2 separate regions of the Homo sapiens genome follow, and region 1 is linked to region 2. The links are contacts of gene promoters, found by promoter capture Hi-C in blood cells and fetal thymus (Javierre and others, 2016). All regions are on one chromosome and are shown on one strand. Each heading gives the region's core, a stretch centred on a gene start or on the middle of the fragment in contact. The rest is flanking DNA. Distances are from core to core; before and after follow the strand shown.

Region 1 (3,443 bases), core at 920-3,419, 1.0 Mb after region 2:
TTGGTACATTAATCAAGTTCACTTTAAAACTGCTATAGGAATTCTTGAAAAAGAAAAATTAAAAATAATGTGCTATTGAAGGTTGTGAATATTTCTTTCATAGCATCTTATTTTAAATTTTTAGATGGATAAAATACAGACTCATTACCTGGGATCTTGCTGTAAGACCATTTTGATGCAAATTGCCTAAAGCTCATCAAATGATTGTTCCTAACAGCCTCTTCCTAACAGTGCCTGCCTGATTAGCTTTTGTTCTCATGTCTGACCAAAGGTTCTGGCATGGGTGGATGATCACATTTCTTTACTAATGAAAAATAATGGTCATAAAGATGCTACTAAGGACAGGTGTGTGACAGTTGAATCAAGATACATTGGTACTAAAATTCCAAGTATTAAGCAAAGCCTTAGAGAAAGACGAGAAGAAAGTAAGGAGCTGATTACTGGGACAATATACTGATTCCCTGTTAATTTCATAAAAATTAGTTCTTTATTCAATTCAAATGAATGAAACCCTTTCAGTGTTTAAGACAGGTAATTTGTCCACATGACTCACAAAGCAACATAAGAAAACAATAAAAAGTACTACTTGCATCTCCAATCCTATCTGCCCTATCCCTTCCTCCAATAATCACTTTTATTAATTTCTTGTGTCTTCTTCCAGAGTTTCTTCATACAACTATAAGCAAATACGAAGAGATACTATTTTTCTTTCCTATCCAAAAGGTAGTCTGCTGCATTGTTGTCCTGACATGAAAGCTCTTCCAAGTCAGCTCATAACTTCCTCTGTTTTACAGTTGTAGAGTATCATATTGTAGAGGTATAGCATGTATTTAACCAAACCTCTACTGAGAGCCTTTGGGTGGTTTCAGTGTATCTGTAGAATAACACTAAAGTGGGATTGCTAGGCATAATGGGTTGAATTGCGTCCTCATCCACAAAAGATACAATGAAGCCCTAAACCTCAGTACCTCAGAATGTAATCTTATATTTGGAAATAGGGTCACTGTAGATGTAATTAGTTAAGATGAAGTCAGATTGGAATAGGGTAGGCCCCTAATCCAATATGACTGGTGTCTTATGAGACGATGGCCATGTGAAGACATAGAGACAAACAGGGAGAACACACTGAAGACAAAGGCAGAGACTGGAGTTACGTAGCTGCAAGCCCAGGATTACCAAAGATTGCCAGAAAATCACCAAAAGCTAAAAAGAGGCAAGGAAGGTGGTCCTATAGATTTCAGAGGGAACAAGACCATGCTGACACCTTGATTTCAGACTTGCAGGCTTCAGAACTGTGAGATCATACAGTTTAAAACTGTTGTTTAAATCAGTAAACGTATTTGTAATTTGAATAGTTGTTGCCAAATTACCCACTCTCCGCATAGGGACTGTTCTCATTTACACAGTTACGAGCAAAATATGAGAATGTCTGCTTTCCTGCAGCCTTACAACAGAGTGTATCTCTAATCACACAGGTGATTTTAATGTGAAATCTCTTACTATGATAAATTTAATCATCTTTTCATATGTCTAAGGCCTGTTTGCATTTCCTTTACTGTGAAATGCCTTTTTCATATTCTTAATCCATTTTTTGGTATTGTTCATCTTTTTTTTTAACTTATTAATTTCTAGGCACTCTTTGGTCTTTATGTGTTAAGGGAATAAGCATTTTGTCTATGACATGAGTGAAAATTTTCCATCAGTTTGTCATCTGTCTTTTAACCTTGTTTCTGGTGTTGTTTGCATTTTTTTTTTCCACAGAAATTTTTAATACTGGCACAATTTGCTGGCACTGAATGGACACAGTACTTAACACATTAGATTCATGTGTGATAAAACAAAGTTTACAGAACACTCACATCCAAATCAAGTATTTATAGCATGATTCATGGAACTACCTCACTGTTTAGATACTACTTACTAAACATCTCTCAGTGGGGAGTAATCGGACCACGAAGACAGAAATGGATTAGGGTTAAAGGAAGGACTGAGGGGAAAACATCAGAGAGAGTGTAAAACATATAAGATCCCTTAAAATAACTCAATAAGCTTGAAGTCATTGTTAAGTGACAATAACATTGAAATGGAAATAACATTGTAAAAAAATCAAAGGGAAAGTAAAGAGATACGTGCTGTTTTAAGAACATCCTTCTTCTCACAACCTGAATTCATAAAGCTCATGTTTTAAAATATGAAATTACTCTGTGCTTAACAAAGAGTTCTGCTGTAAAGTAACTTTAAAAAGCATTTCCCAGTAGGAAATAACAGCAGATTTGGAATCAAAGCTTGAGTACAAATCCCTTGTCAACCCCTTGAGAGAGTCATTTAACTGTGTGAACCATGAACTACCTAAGATTCTACTGTATTACCTGCATATGGAGATAATTAACATCTACCCCATCCCAAAACTGCTGGGCCAAAGCAGGTATCAAACTGCTTATGTCATAAAATGCTAAATAATCTGAAGTCATGTGATTATTCAAGAAAAGGAGTGGAATCCAATTTTTTAGAAACACATCTATCACATGACAGAAATGCGATGACAAGTTACTTAGACTCCAGAAGAGGTTTGTGGGAGATTTTAGAGGAAATTGCATAATTGAAATTATGGTGCCCTAAGCATACAGTGAAGATGACAAAAGGGAAAAGAGCTGCAAAGTACACAAATGGAGTGTTTGGTATGCTATAGAGCTCCTGGGCCCTCCTTCACAATCCCAACCTTCCAAGCTGATGATTCTCACATGGCATCTGGCCTATTGGTAAAAGATGAATGATTTACCTTTCTTAATACTGCTTTTCACCACAACCAAAGAAAAGGGCCCACATCGTGACAAAATTAAGATCTGTGCTTAATTTAAAGTATCCTGGCCGAGGCGGGTGGATCACTTGAGGTCAGGAGTTCAAAACCAGCCTGGCCAACATGATGAAACCCCAACTCTATTAAAAATAAAAAAAAAATTAGCCAGCTGTGGTGGCGGATGTCTGTAATCCCAGCTACTTGGGAGGCTGAGACAGGAGAATTGCTTGAACTGAGGAGGCGGAGGCTGCAGTGAGCCGAGATCACACCACTGCACTCCAGCGTGGGTGGACAGAGCGAGACTCTGTCTCAAAAAAAAAAAAAAAAAAAAAAGTAATCCTTATAAAGTGATCCTTTTAAAGCCAATCTATGAACTTCTCAAGGCCAAAAACAAGTTTACACTCAAAGCCAAGGGAACATGCAAGGACCAAGACTGTGCTCTCACAATGTATACATTTCCATACTTTATGTAGACAAACAGCTCCACAGCCAGACTGGATATTATGTTACAAATAATACATACATACCTATGCCACAACTATTATTTACTCTGAACAACAAGCTAGACACCTGTATGTTTCCAACTTTCTCTCTTTAATAAAAAATAGGTGAATAAATTAACAGGGACTCTTCTGCTTCCTGACCA
Region 2 (3,625 bases), core at 991-3,490:
GCCCAAGGAAACTAAGCACAGAAATAGCTCTTCCATAAAAACATGACAGGCTTTTAAAAAAGTGAACGAGAAAAAAATCCACAGAAAAAGAGTGCTACTCTTTGAAACACAACATCCAGAACAAAAGACAGTACCTTCAAAACCCACTCAGTCATTGAGAAATATTAACTGTCCTAAAATTCCGTAAAGAGATTAGTGTTGGCTGGGCGCGGTGGCTCACGCCTGTAATCCCAGCACTTTGGGAGGCCAAGGCCGGCGGATCACGAGGTAAGGAGATCGAGACCATCCTGGCTAACACGGTGAAACCCGTCTCTACTAAAAATACAAAAAACTAGCCAGGTGTGGTGGCGGGTGCCTGTGGTCCCAGCTACTTGGGAGGCTGAGGCAGGAGGATGGCCTGAACCCGGGATGCGGAGCTTGCAGTGAGCCGAGATCTCGCCACTGCACTCCAGCCTGGGCTACAGAGCCAGATTCCTTCTCAAAAAAAAAAAAAGAGATTAGCGTTGCCCGAAAATTAGGTTCTTTTTAAACACTTTCATTTTGTCTTTATAAAGCTACATCCAATCCTGTGAAAATGCACAGGTTGCTCTAAGAAAAGAAGTACTCATCTCCTTAAACACTATTACCTGATAAATGTTATATTAAGTTTACATATCAATGCATTTACAATGTATATATTCATGCATTTATATGGGAGGTAACAAATTAGAAGATACACCTTTCTATATTTGCAAAAATGTAAAATGTCACTTGTATTCTCTCAAGGCAGTTTTATTTAAAAAAAAATTTCCTCACATTGAATAGATTATAAAATAAAAATCAGATGCCCCATACTACGGTACCTAGCAACCCCCTTCACCCAACTCCCATGGGCTTCTCCCACACACTATTTCATCAGTCATCTAGGGAGTCTGTAAGGAATGGGTTATCCTTTCCCTTGCAAAACAGATAAAACTTGTGCACTTAATACGCTCAAAGAATGTGTTCAGTTAATTATAAAAAAATGAAAACTATTTGTTTTCATCATTTATTCCTTCAGTCTATATGGTAAAAGAATCCAATTCTCATTAAAAGTTACCATATCAACTCTAAGGAACTTGGTGAATCCATCCGATCACTATCACAGAGGAACTATCCCTTAATTACATGTACAGAGGGTCACCAAATTCCGCTTACAAAAGCTTTCCAACCATTCTATCATACCGGAGGAAAAAGTAATGTTTCTCCTATAGCTATACAAATAAATGTCGTTAGTTTTTCTATAGTTTTCCTGGGCTTTCCTGTTGACAGGCAATATTTCAAAAGAATATAAGATCTGTGATTTATCTTCCACGCCTTAGTTACGGAAAATGATGCTAATACGATAATTGGCTTAAGGTTACAACGCTGACGTTGGAATGTTTACTGCCAAACAAAAGGAGAAATTATACTTAATTTTAAAAAACATCTCAGGAAAGAACATACCCCTAAAAACGTAAATTAAAACTGGTAACATAATTAGACGGTCTCTTAGATAATAGTAATTCAGGTTTCCCCTCCATCGACAGTAACTACCAAGTTTTCCCATGAAATGGAGGTTAGGGACCAGCCTTAGAATACTGAGAAAGATAAGAGACTCCCCTAGAATCGAAAGAGGGAAGAGAAACCAGAGAACAGAAACATGGTGAGGAAAGAGAAAAAACAGCTCTAACGTGCCAAGGGGTCTATTAACAAGAAAAAGGCATTATTGAACCGATTTACCCAGGAGTAACCCGAGCCCAAACCCCCGCCGACCACGGGGCGAACTCCGAAGTCTACTGAAGAAAGCTCCAGAGCCCAGTGACAATGAGAACCGCTCTTCTCTAGGAGTGGGGGCTCTAAGAGGAGACCATGCCTTCCCTGAATCGCCTTCCAGTTTGCTCGTCAGGAGCAAGACCCACCTGGAGACCGCCATGGCCGGGCGCCGGCGGTTCGGAGCTCCCCGCGACCTACGCGCCGCGCAGCTGAGGCGCTAGTTTCCAGAGAGCTGAGCGGCGCAGGCCCAGGCCGCGGAGCACAGGGGAGCGGCCGGTGCGGCGTGGGGCGTTCCAGCGCAGGCCCTCGGGCATCTGCCCTGCCGCCTACCCGAGCTCGTCCCCGCGGCGGCCGGTAAGCAGGGGTCCAAGACGGTAGCGGAGGCGGCAGTCCTCCGACCCGCACGACTTCAAACCGGGTACCCTCAGCTCCGCTCTTTGCTGACGCGGGCGTCGGCACGCACAACTGAGCGTCAGCGCGCCGGAAGTGACGTAAGCTCACCGACAGGAGCTTAGCTCGGCGCGAGCGCCTTTGGTTTGGCGGCACGCGCCTAAATAAAAGCGCTTTGTGCTGATGTGGAGAGGGTGTCTAGTCTTAAAACTAGGGAAGGAGGTGAAGTAAGGGTCCCCTTATTTGACAGAGAAGGAAAAAGGCGATTTAGTCCAAGTCCTGGAACTTCGAAAGCTTGGTTTCTAATTCCACACTACCCAGATTCTGCTTCCCACCGTACTGCATCTAGGAAGCAAGATCAGAAGGACCTTAACATGCTCTTGTCCAGGTGGTGAAGCCAGTGGGAGGAGTGAAAGCAAAAAGTCGCTATGACACTGAAGAAATGGCTCAGATGTTTGTCATTATTTGCCAGAAGTTCTGCCTAGGTATTGGAGAGAAGGTCTTCTGACCAACGATTTTGCCAAGTTTGATTTCTCAATTGTTTATGTTGTTTGTACCATCATTTTCTCAGCCAGCCAGATTTGAAAACTACCATTTTTAAATTTTTGTTCCTTTGGGGGACTTATCTGGCTTTTCAATATTTTTAAGTTCATTAGGCTTTTAAACACTTCTGCCAGGCCCTTATCATCTTACACTTGATTTTTTTTTTTTGACCGAGTTTCGCTCTGTCGCCCAGGCTGGAGTGCAGTGGCGCGATCTCGGCTCACTGCCAACCTGCGCTTACCGGGTTCAAGCGATTCTAAATGTGCCTCAACCTCCCGAGTAGCTGGGAGGCACACGAGCCCCACGCCGGGCCAATTTTTTGTATTTTTTAGTAGAGACGGGGTTTCGCCATGTAGGCCAGGCTTGTCTCCTGCTCCTGGCCTCAAGTGATCTGCCCGCCTCGGCCTCCCAAAGTGCTGGGATTACAGGTGTGAGCCACTGCGCCCGGCCCTTAAACTTGATTTTTATGCTAGTAGTCAAAATAATATTTCTCCAATTTTCAGTTCAGCCCATTTTATAGGCCAACAGATTAATCTTCAAAAAACCTCACTGCTTTTTATCATGTCGCTCCTATGCTTATAAAGCATGTCCATTGGCTTCTCATTACCTGAAGAGGCTATGTCTCAATCCTTGAGTCTGTTTTTCATCTGTAAAATGAGGCTAATGAGAAGTACTGCAGAAGATTGTGGGAATAAAATGAGGTCATGAATCTAGAAGAGCTTACAAGAACTTTGTAAACCATAAAGTAGTATATATGTATGTAAAGAGAAAGAAACTAACAAGTACCTGCTGTGTGCTGGGCACATGACATGCATTATCCATATAATTTGTAGGGAAGCCTTGAAAAGTTAGTTTTAATCTTCGTAGACAAGGAAACTAAGCTCAGAAAGGTTAAGTAATTTGCCTCAAGATTCAAGCT

The links. The method cuts DNA at HindIII sites, captures the fragments that hold promoters and counts their contacts. A CHiCAGO score of 5 or more calls a contact.
Region 1: a fragment that was not itself captured here is called in contact with the fragment with the promoter of BTAF1 in region 2 in 3 of 17 cell types (total CD4 T cells, fetal thymus and total CD8 T cells); the score reaches 8.8 in total CD4 T cells.

Annotation. Positions count from the first base shown.
Region 1 is chr10:90,888,992-90,892,434 of GRCh38, reverse strand. The region is part of intron 6 of RPP30 (ribonuclease P/MRP subunit p30); the gene reads right to left. Among named protein-coding and RNA genes, the nearest start is that of RPP30, 19 kb to the right of the region's middle. The HindIII fragment of the contact is 236 bases long and covers 2,052-2,287 here.
Region 2 is chr10:91,922,385-91,926,009 of GRCh38, reverse strand. BTAF1 (B-TFIID TATA-box binding protein associated factor 1) reads right to left here and starts at 2,240. Exons shown (of 38, transcript NM_003972.3): 1 at 1,920-2,240. The coding sequence starts at 1,933. RefSeq lists enhancers at 1,698-1,897, 2,508-2,617, 2,965-3,498 and a silencer at 1,958-2,257. The HindIII fragment of the contact is 1,276 bases long and covers 1,184-2,459 here.